Regions from separate parts of the Homo sapiens genome. Here region 2 is linked to region 1. The links are contacts of gene promoters, found by promoter capture Hi-C in blood cells and fetal thymus (Javierre and others, 2016). All regions are on one chromosome and are shown on one strand. The core of a region is centred on a gene start or on the middle of the fragment in contact, and the rest is flanking DNA. Distances in the headings are between cores, read along the strand shown.

Evidence for each region. The method cuts DNA at HindIII sites, captures the fragments that hold promoters and counts their contacts. A CHiCAGO score of 5 or more calls a contact.
Region 2: a fragment that was not itself captured here is called in contact with the fragment with the promoter of GATD3 in region 1 in 2 of 17 cell types (naive B cells and total B cells); the score reaches 7.3 in naive B cells.

Annotation. Positions count from the first base shown.
Region 1 is chr21:44,130,239-44,135,232 of GRCh38, reverse strand. GATD3 (glutamine amidotransferase class 1 domain containing 3) reads right to left here and starts at 1,550. Exons shown (of 7, transcript NM_004649.8): 1 at 1,395-1,550; 2 at 1,079-1,131. The coding sequence starts at 1,535. PWP2 (PWP2 small subunit processome component) reads right to left here. Exons shown (of 21, transcript NM_005049.3): 21 at 4,052-4,636. The coding sequence ends at 4,462. RefSeq lists enhancers at 467-994, 995-1,522, 1,523-2,050. The HindIII fragment of the contact is 13,325 bases long and covers 1-2,892 here.
Region 2 is chr21:44,232,992-44,238,049 of GRCh38, reverse strand. ICOSLG (inducible T cell costimulator ligand) reads left to right here. Exons shown (of 7, transcript NM_015259.6): 3 at 833-1,183; 4 at 2,488-2,778. Among named protein-coding and RNA genes, the nearest start is that of ICOSLG, 5.4 kb to the left of the region's middle. The HindIII fragment of the contact is 4,588 bases long and covers 1-3,759 here.

The DNA.
Region 1 (4,994 bases), core at 301-2,800:
CCCCAGACACAAGACCCTGCCGTTCTGCCTGGGAGGGCTCAAGCTATTCTGGGGCTATTTTCTATCCCACCAAGGCCAAATCATGAAACACATCCTGGCCCTTTCCCCCAGCTCACTCTGCCTAGTGCCAACTCCAACCAGCCAAGGTGGGCCACCCACAAAGCCACCAGCCTCAGGCCACTCTCCATGGCCTGACACCCCTTTCGCCACCACCCAGCTCTCCCCTCTCCAGTTCACCCTGAACCACATGGGAACTACAGGTACCTGGCACGCGTGGTGGCCTCCTGCCCTACTGGTTCGGCCTGCAGTCATTTCCAGTAGCACAGGAAATCAGGCCACCAAGCACTCAGCAACAGCTGACCAGTTACGTAAACAGTAACCTGTCTAGGACCCAGAAATACCACGCAACTGTTAAAATGATGTTGAGAACTGAATGAATGGGAATTACTTCCCATGCGTCAGAAACATTTGCAAAACACGGGTGAGTGTGATCTCAGTGTTTTCAAAATGTGTGTGTCCTGAAAAACACTCAAGTGAAATGCTAAGTCATTTCTAGGCTCTAGGTGACAGCATAAGCGACACTTAAAAACTGTTCTTTCTTAGCGTCTCCCTGGGTTTTGCAAGTCGTTTTTGCTTTTTTTTAGCCAAGAATAGGGTATTTAAAATACAAGCTCTCTCGGCCGGGTGCAGTGGCTCATGCCTGTAATCCCAGCACTTTGGGAGGCCAAAGCGGGAGGATCACTTGAGGTCAGGAGTTTGAGACCAGCCTGGCCAACATGGTGAAACTCCGTATCTACCAAAAATACACAAATTAGTTGGGTGTGGTGGTGCATGCTTGTAGTCCCAGCTACTCGGAAGGCTGAGGCAGGAGAATCGCTTGAACCCAGGAGGCGGAGGCCGCAGTGAGCCAAGATCGCGCCATTGCACTCCAGACTGGGCGCTGTCTCAAAAGACAAAAAGTAAAAATAAAATAAAATACATGCTTTCTCTAAGCTGTTCAAAAAAGAGTAAACTTCACTGGTGGAGAGGCCTTCTCGAGGCCCCCGGGGTGGAGGACCAGCTGCCCCTGAGGACTTACGCCGAGGCCTCGTGGATCTCGGTCCCATCGTAGACTCCGCATCCAGACAGCACCTGCGAGAGGAGCGGGAGCTGACCCGGGGGAAAGGGGCCGACCTGGGCGGCGGGAGTTGACTGGGGGGAAAGGGGCCGACCTGGGCCGCGGGCGCTGACCCGGGAAAATGGGGCCGACCTGGGCCGCAGGAGCTGACTTGGGGTGAAGGAGCCGACGTGGGGCGGCGGGAGCGGACCTAGGAAGAGGGGCCGACCTTGGGCAGAGAACAGCGAAGGCTGATCTCTGGAGGCGGGAGCTGACCTCACCCCCTCCGTCCACTCACCAGCGCGACCCTGGCCGCGGGGCGCGGCACGGAGAGGTGAAGGGCTGCGCGCTGGGAAGGCGTCCGACCGCCGGGGGACAGGGACGTGAATGCAGATGCCGCAGCGAGCCTCGAGGCCACCAGGACCCTCACAGCCGCCATTGCGGTGAGGACAGCGGGGTCGGAAGGTCACGCAGGGACAGAGCGTGCGCACCCACCCCTCTACAAACGCGTTGCTCGTCGGGACTGCGCCTGCGCAGCCTTCTGGGCGGAGCCAAGACCCGCCCCCGTCTCAGCCCTATCCAGTGAGTTCGCCGGTGGGCGGGGGCCGCGCCTGCGCAGAGCCTCCGAATAGAGTTCCGGGAACCCTGTCTTCCTTCCGGTGGTGGCTGAGGGCTCGTGCTCGAGGCTGAGGGATGCTGGTGACTCCCGGGGTCCCCAGCCCCGCCCCCATCGGACGCCTCCACAGGCGGCGCACCCTTTCCGCCATCCGCAGAGCAAGGCTGCCTCGGGGCGGCTCAGTCCGGCGCTTCTTACCTTACCTCCGTCTCATCCTTAACTCACCACGAGCGTCCAGGGTCCACATCCTCCTAAATGGCCACTCGTCTTAATCTCGGCGTCAGGACCCACGCGGGGTCAGGACTACCCCTCCGCTTCCATGACTGTCTCCTCGCGGCTCCGGCTCCCACGGAGCGACCCCTCCGGGTTTTACTGACCCCGGGATGTTGTATCCTGGAAACTGCAGTTCCACCCAGGGGCTTGATCTGGGTTAGTCTGGGGGCAAGTGAGCCGCCGATTCTGTTTGGGTTTTTTTTTTTTTTTTTTTGAGACGGAGTTTCCCTCTTGTTGCCCGGGCTGGAGTGCAATGGCGCGAAGTCGGCTCAACGCAACCTCCGCCTCCCAGGTTCAAGCGACTCTTCTGCCTCAGCCTCCCAAGTAGCTGGGACTACAGGCATGCGCCACCACGCCAGGCTAATTTTGTATTTTTAGTAGAGACGGGGTTTCTCCATGTTGGTCTGGCTGGTCTTGAACTCCCGAGCTCAGGTGATCTGCCCGCCTCGGACTCCCAAAGTGCTGGGATTACAGGCGTGAGCCACCATTCCCGGGCGCTGTTTGGGTTTGTTTTTTTGTTTTTGTTTTTTACGTTCACAGCATGGACGGTCAGTGTGAAGATCCCAGCTGCTCGGGTCCTAGCTGGAATTCTTCCATTAAAAAAATCTGTTTGTTATGCATGGGTTAGTTCACAGAGGAATAGCTGGATAAGTGCTGGCTTTTTCCCCGATTTACCCATTTTCAACCTAATAATGCAGGTTTTTGAAATAATGTGAATGGTTACTGCTGGCGGATGTTCACAGGGACACACCGGATTCTACAGACACATCTGATGATCTAGCCACGGCTGTCACTTTCCCCACTGCCGCGTTGTCCATCACTAGGACTTTACTGCCAATCCTTGCAAGATAGTGGGGAACTAGAATAACAGACATGGGACATTACCAGTTACAACCAAAGACAAGCTTGGCACATTTGACTGTCCTCGTTCCTGCTCCTCCGTGCCTGGCCCTCTTCAGGCTTCTCAGCTCCTGGGGAGCGGCCAGCCAGGGAGCATCAGCTGGTGGGAGCGATGGGGTTGTGGGATGGCACAAAAAAACACCAAGCGCCACTCAGAAAGGAAATGCCGAATGCAGACTCTCACTCAGTCGGTGTGGGGGCCAGGACCCTGTCTCTACCAAGTGTGCGGGAGCTGCCCCTGGCCGGGAGCTCCCAGACCCCACTGCAGAGCCGCAGCTCCAGTTGTCCCAGGGGCGACTACTCAGGTGTCCATCGCCATGCACATGTGACACAGAAAAGGGTGAGGCGAGGAGGGGGAACGCTGGAAATTGTTTCACGGAAAAGGGCGAGGCAAGGGAGGGGAACACTGGAACTTGTGCTTTGGGTAGGCGATAGCTAAGGATTCTCTCTCGTCTGGGTCACGGAGATTGTGCAGCCACAGAACACCTGGTGTCATCAGGGCCTGAGCTCCTCCCTTCTACAAAGACCTCTGGTCTGCAGGCCTGCAGGTACAGTGCTGTGGGCCACAAGGCACTGCCTGTCGTATTCATCTCCACTCTCTAGCACATCTGGCCTCACGCCACCCCCGGGAGGCCGGCAGGCAGATATCAGCTCCACTTCCCAGATAAGCAAGGGAGCCAGGTACTACCCAGGGTCTTGGGGGCCACACCGCTGGCGAGGGACAGGCTGGGCCTGGCAGACAGCACTGGCAGTCGGTGAAGTGCCCACCTCAGTGTCAGCCTCAGGTCCTGACCCTGGAGGCTGCTGTTACTGAGCTGTGGGGACCAGGATGCCCTACCATGATGGAGACCCAAGCCTCTCTCATGATGACTATTCCCAAGGGCACTGCAGAGGGGAGGAGCTGTCTCCTCCTCCGTGTGGCCCACGCAGAGCTGGTGCAGGTCTGAGTGAGCTCACCAAGACAGGCCAATCCCAGCCCCAGACTCCAAAGCATCCCCAAGAGGTCAGGGAGAGGCTCTGTGCCCCTGACCCCAAGGATATGCACAGGTCACAAGGCAGAGCCCCCGCTAGACAGCAGGAGCACCCTGCTCTGTCAGCCTGCTTCCCCAGGACGGAGGCCCTGGTGGTAAGGCAGGCAGGTCTTGAGCCCCCACAAGACAGCAGGATACAACATAACCCTTTTTAATCTGAAGTGTAGACTTCATCCTCACGTTAGAAAACTCCATCTTTTTTTTAATCCCTAAGTTCTTTATCAAACCTTTATGTTAAAGATATAAATAAGTCTCATACAAAGTTCATGTGAATACCTCTCTGAGACGCATTTTCAACATTCATCACCGTTCACACGGCCCCGCTCCTGGGGCCAGGTGCCAGTGCGTGCCGGCCCCTGGCGTGACCCGTCGGCTCGCTGTCCTGATGGGCTACATGTGTGCACAGGAAAAGCAAGTCACTACCACTAGTGACAGTATTTCAGCTGTTCTCTGGACCCCTCCTCTTTGCTGGCCCAGGTGGCACAAGGGTCCCATCTCCCTGGCAGGTCTTAGCCGGCACAATCCAACGCTGCAACCGGCTGGCTCTAGGCCAGCATCTCTTCTTCTGAGTCTCTGCCTCCTCCTCCAAGCAGATGCAGGCTGTCATCTTCAGATGCTTCTGCCTCCTCCTCACTTCCCAGCGGGTCTAGGGAGCGTTTTGTGCCCCGCTGCTTGGAAACTGCTAGTGCGTACTGCATGTTATAGTGGTTCCAGCTACAGCTGTCAATCACACAGGGATGGTCAATGCCAGCAACGCCCAGGCCCTGGCCTGTCCTGCACCCAACCACCTCCTCTGTGACCCCTGAGAAAAGCAGCAGGGGCTGGACATGCCGGTTCCTCCACCCCAGCAGCCATTTTTTTCCTCTTTTCCCTGCCCCAACAATCTGGTTCTGCCCCATCCAGCCCTGGGGCAGCAAAGGCCTTCAAGGACCCAAGGACCCAACTGTAACATCCCATCCCTTTGGGGTCATCCTGGCAGCTCAGCCCTTCCGCTGGGCCCAATCTAGATGGCTTCACCAGCAAGTTCCACCAAACACTTAGGAAGAGACCGCTGCAGAGCTATGTGGTGTTGTGGAGC
Region 2 (5,058 bases), core at 216-2,715, 100 kb before region 1:
CAGCCCAGAGGGCTTTGGGGGCAGGGGACACACACAGATTTTCCTGCAGGTGCCAGGTGCAGTGGCTCACTCCTGTAATCCCAGGACTTTGGGAGGCCAAGGCGGGTGGATCACCTGAGGTCAGGAGTTCGAGACCAGGCTGGCCAACATAGTGAAGCCCGATCTCTACTAAAAATACAAAAAATTAGCTGGGCATGGTGGCGGGCACCTGTAATCCCAGCTACTTGGGAGGGTGAGGCAGGAGAATGGCGTGAACCCCAGAGTCGGGGGTTGCAGTGAGCTGAGATCACGCCATTGCACCCCAGCCTGGGTGACGGAGCAAGACTCCATCTCAAAAAAAAAGATTTTCCCACAGGCATTTACGTAGCTGCACAAACAGTAAAGCTACCCTGTGTCTGCCACATTTGTGACAGCTTTCCTACTGCAAGTGAGCAGCAATATAATGTAATTGCTGAGAAATTCTTTTCCCTTAAATGCCTTTCCCTTAAAGAACTTTTTATTGTGCATTAATTATAGACTCCCGAGAAGTAGTAAAAGTAGTGCTGAGTAACAAAAATAACACTGAGCGGCCAGGCCCCATCCAGCCGCTCCTCCCCATGGCAGCCCCTTACATAACAGGAGTGTGTCATCGAAGCCAAAGACTGACATGGACCTCACCATGAAATGTCTGCGTTTTTCAAGTTTGACTGCATTCCTACATGTGCCTTGTTAATAAATTCTGAGCCACCGTTGGTGTTTGAGGCTTGAAACCCAAAGTCTGCCCCATAGAGTAGCTTCATGGCCTGGGCATCAGCCTCCGAAAACAGATTTTGCACCTTTTGGGCCATTGCAGATACTCAGGAGAAGGAAGTCAGAGCGATGGTAGGCAGCGACGTGGAGCTCAGCTGCGCTTGCCCTGAAGGAAGCCGTTTTGATTTAAATGATGTTTACGTATATTGGCAAACCAGTGAGTCGAAAACCGTGGTGACCTACCACATCCCACAGAACAGCTCCTTGGAAAACGTGGACAGCCGCTACCGGAACCGAGCCCTGATGTCACCGGCCGGCATGCTGCGGGGCGACTTCTCCCTGCGCTTGTTCAACGTCACCCCCCAGGACGAGCAGAAGTTTCACTGCCTGGTGTTGAGCCAATCCCTGGGATTCCAGGAGGTTTTGAGCGTTGAGGTTACACTGCATGTGGCAGGTAGGACCATCGAGGCGGGGAGAGCTAGGTCCATCCCAGCCTCACATCGTGGACAAGTGTTCATGAAACCCCCTCCCTGGCTCATTCACTGTTTCTTCCAGTGAAGAAAATTCTCATCTGTGTTATCAGGCTTCTGTCTAACTTCGAGGGAAACTAAACAGCTGAAAAATCCTTAGTGCATGACCTGCGGCTGCTTGGTTTCCCGGAAGAGCTCCTACCCTTGCTGTCTTTGCCTCTTGAGTTAGTTAGCTTTTGTTTTTGTTTTTGTTTTTTGAGACGGAGTCTCGCTCTGTCACCCAGGCTGCAGTGCAGTGGCACAATCTTGGCTCACCGCAACCCCCGCCTCCTGGGTTCAAGCAATTCTCCACAGCCTCCCGAGTAGCTGGGACTACAGGCGCGTGCCACCACACCCAGCTAATTTTTGTATTTTTAGTAGAGACAGGGTTTCACCATGTTGGCCAGGCTGGTCTCAAATTCCTGGCCTCGTGATCCGCCCGCCTCAGCCTCCCAAAGTGCTGGGATTACAGGTGTGAGCCACCGCGCCTGGCCAATTAGTTTGTTTTTTGAGACAGGGTCTCACTGTTGCCCAGGCTGGAGTGCAGTAGCGTGATCACGCTGCAGCCTTGACCTCCTGAGCTCAAGCAATTCTCCTGCTTCAGCCTCCTGAGTATCTGGGACTACAGGCACATGCCACCTCGCCTGGCTAATTTTGATTATTTGTAGAAATGGGGTCTCACTATGTTGCCCAGGCTGGTCTCAAACTCCTGGACACAAGCGATCCTCCTGCCTCACCCTCCCAAAGTGCTGTGATTACAGGCGTGAGCCACCACATCCAAACTAGAGTTTTAAAAGTGAAATTTGAAGGGAACTCTATAAAGCACTAAATGAGAACAAAATTTAAGAGAAAAATAAGAGGCAACCAAGGAGCTCTGGGCAGTTCATTGGGGAGAACAGCTGTGTCCATTTCAGATGGACTGTGAGCCCCTGTGTCAGCAGTGAGAATGACCAGATCCAAATGAGGGGGTCCCGGCACAGCCGACGGCTGTGGAGTGGGGGGTCTGTGGGTGCCAGTCACTGCCCGACAGGCTCAGCGGTCCCTGGCTACTGGGACTGGCTTGGGGGATGACTCTTGGGCAGGACAGGGCGGAGCCTGCTGCTCGGACCACAGCCCTGGTCCTGGCCTGTCACCCATGTCGGGGCACAATGGGCCGCCTCCCCTCTGACCCAGCCTTGGCACCGTGTACCCTCTGTTTCTTGACCAGCAGGGTCTGGCATCTCTCACAATCTGTTTCCCTCCCCTGCAGCAAACTTCAGCGTGCCCGTCGTCAGCGCCCCCCACAGCCCCTCCCAGGATGAGCTCACCTTCACGTGTACATCCATAAACGGCTACCCCAGGCCCAACGTGTACTGGATCAATAAGACGGACAACAGCCTGCTGGACCAGGCTCTGCAGAATGACACCGTCTTCTTGAACATGCGGGGCTTGTATGACGTGGTCAGCGTGCTGAGGATCGCACGGACCCCCAGCGTGAACATTGGCTGCTGCATAGAGAACGTGCTTCTGCAGCAGAACCTGACTGTCGGCAGCCAGACAGGTAAGGTCCCGGCGCCTGCGTGCTGAGCTGTGCCCGACAGTGGGGCCAGGGCTGGCTTGGGAGAGCCTCTGAGGTAGGAGACAAAAAGTCCCTTCGACGCGGCTCAGCACCCGAAAGGTGGTTGGAAGGGAGGGGAGGTGAGAGGCACATGCCGCACAGTGAGAACCACCGCGGTCTCTGGGAACAGGAATGGGTGCCGTGCCCAGTGCATATTGCTCCATTTTCTTCACCTGGAGTCGGTTTTCTTAAACCTACTTTACAGATGAGGGCTGAACTCTGAGGCTGGGTAACACTTCAGAAGCCGCAGCACTAGGCAGCAGCAGCCCAGAACAGAAGCCCACAGCTGTGCAGCCCCCACCCAAGCTCCCTGCCTCTTGGGCGTGTGTCCCCTGAGAAGACTGAAGCCCCCAGACACGGGAATCCCACTGCGCACGGCTGCTGGCCCAGCCCCTCCCTGTGGAAGGGGTGCCCTGTGGAAGGGGTTCCTCTACGGGGACTCCTTTGTAGAGGACACAGGCCCTCCCCATTTGTGTCCCCATCTCCTGTGTCAGGATGAGAGGCAGAAGATGGAGGCAGGAGATGATCGAGGAGGGGTCCTGGGGCCCTGCTGGCTGCAGGAAAGGGGCTGCCAGCAGGACTCACCGTGTGGCCCTGGGCAAAGCAAGAATGCAGGGCTCCTTGTTTCGGGAGCATTAAGAATTCCAGACAGTGACCACAAGCATTGCACCTCCTGCCGGCCTTTCTGAGCTCAACCCCAGAAGCCTGCACAGGTCATACCCTCGAAGTCCACCCTGGCCGCCAGGATCCCCGGCAGAGCCGGACCTTCTCCTTCTTGAAATCAGGGCTCAGCCCTTCTGACTCAACATTCAGAGTGTCTGAGCTGCATGCAGCGGGATGAGGGGCTGCTCCCAAAGCAGCCTCTGATAACTGCCTTCCAGCCAGCATACTCCCCGCAGAGCAGCCCAGGTGGCAGCAGAAGCTTCTCCCAGGGCTGTCGTCTCAACCCCGGCCACACAGTGGGGTCATCTGGGCAGCCTATGAAAGCCCCCATGCCCAGACCCATTGCACCTGAAGCTCTGGGCTGGCACCTGGCATCGGGACAGTGTCTAAAAGCTTCAGAGGTTCAAGGTTGAGCACCGTCCAGGTGGTTTCTCCAAGTGTGTTTGGAGACGCGCCGGGCATTCAGAACAAGCTCCCAGGGGGATGCCGCTGCTTGTTTGCCGGTGAGGACGGCTCTCTGAAGGGCACTGCACACAGAGACCAGAGGCATTGTTAGCTTTGTGCATCGTGGCGGAAAAGCAGAAGGGCGCAGCTGCCATGGGGAACGTTGTGGCAGTTCCTCGAAAAGCTCAGCGTGGAAGCACTGCAGGACCCAGCAGTTCTCTCCTAGCGATATAGGCCAGAGGATTCAGAACAGGGACTCAAACAAATGCCTGTCCGTGAATGTTCATGGCAGCCAGAAGGTAGGAACCACCCGAGTGTTCCTCGTGGGTGGACGGATGCACCAAACGTGATCCATGCGTGCAGGGGAGAATTAGCCTGAAAAAGGAAGGAGGCCGCTGTCCTGACGCACGCTGCGGCGTGGAGAACCTCAAGGCCATTATGCGAGTGACAGAGCCAGACACCTGAGGACAAGCCTGTGGGACTCTGTTTATGCAAAGTGTCCAGAATAGGGTGAGCCACTGAGACACAAAGCAACTGGAGGCTTCTGGTGCAGGAGGACAGCAATTCTCCTGCCTCAGCCTCCTGAGTATCTGGGACTACAGGCACATGCACCTCGCCTGGCTAATTTTGATTATTTGTAGCGATGGGGCCTCACTGTGTTGCCCAGGCTAGATTCAAGCTCCTGGACACAAGCGATGCTCCTGCCTAAGCCTCCCAAAGTGCTGAGATTACAGGTGTGAGCCACCACGTCCAAGCTAGAGTTTTAAAAGTGAAATTTGAAGGGAGTGCCATGAAGCACTAAATGAGAACAAAATTTAAGAGAAAAATTAGAGGCCCCAGCTGTTCTGAGACCCCCTCATTTGGATCTGCTCCTTCTTGCTGCTGACACGGGCTCACAGTCCATCTGAAATGGACACGACCATTCTCCCCGATGAACTGCCCAGAAAGACAGCAGACGGCAGGGAAGAGTGGGGAGTGACTGCTCATGGACACAAGGTTCCCTTTTGGGGGTTACAGGTCCTGGAATTAGGTGGTGGTTATGATGGCACTGGCACCCTGAATTGTTCACTTTAAAATGGTTCATTTTGGGCCGGGAGGGGTGGCTCACACCTGATC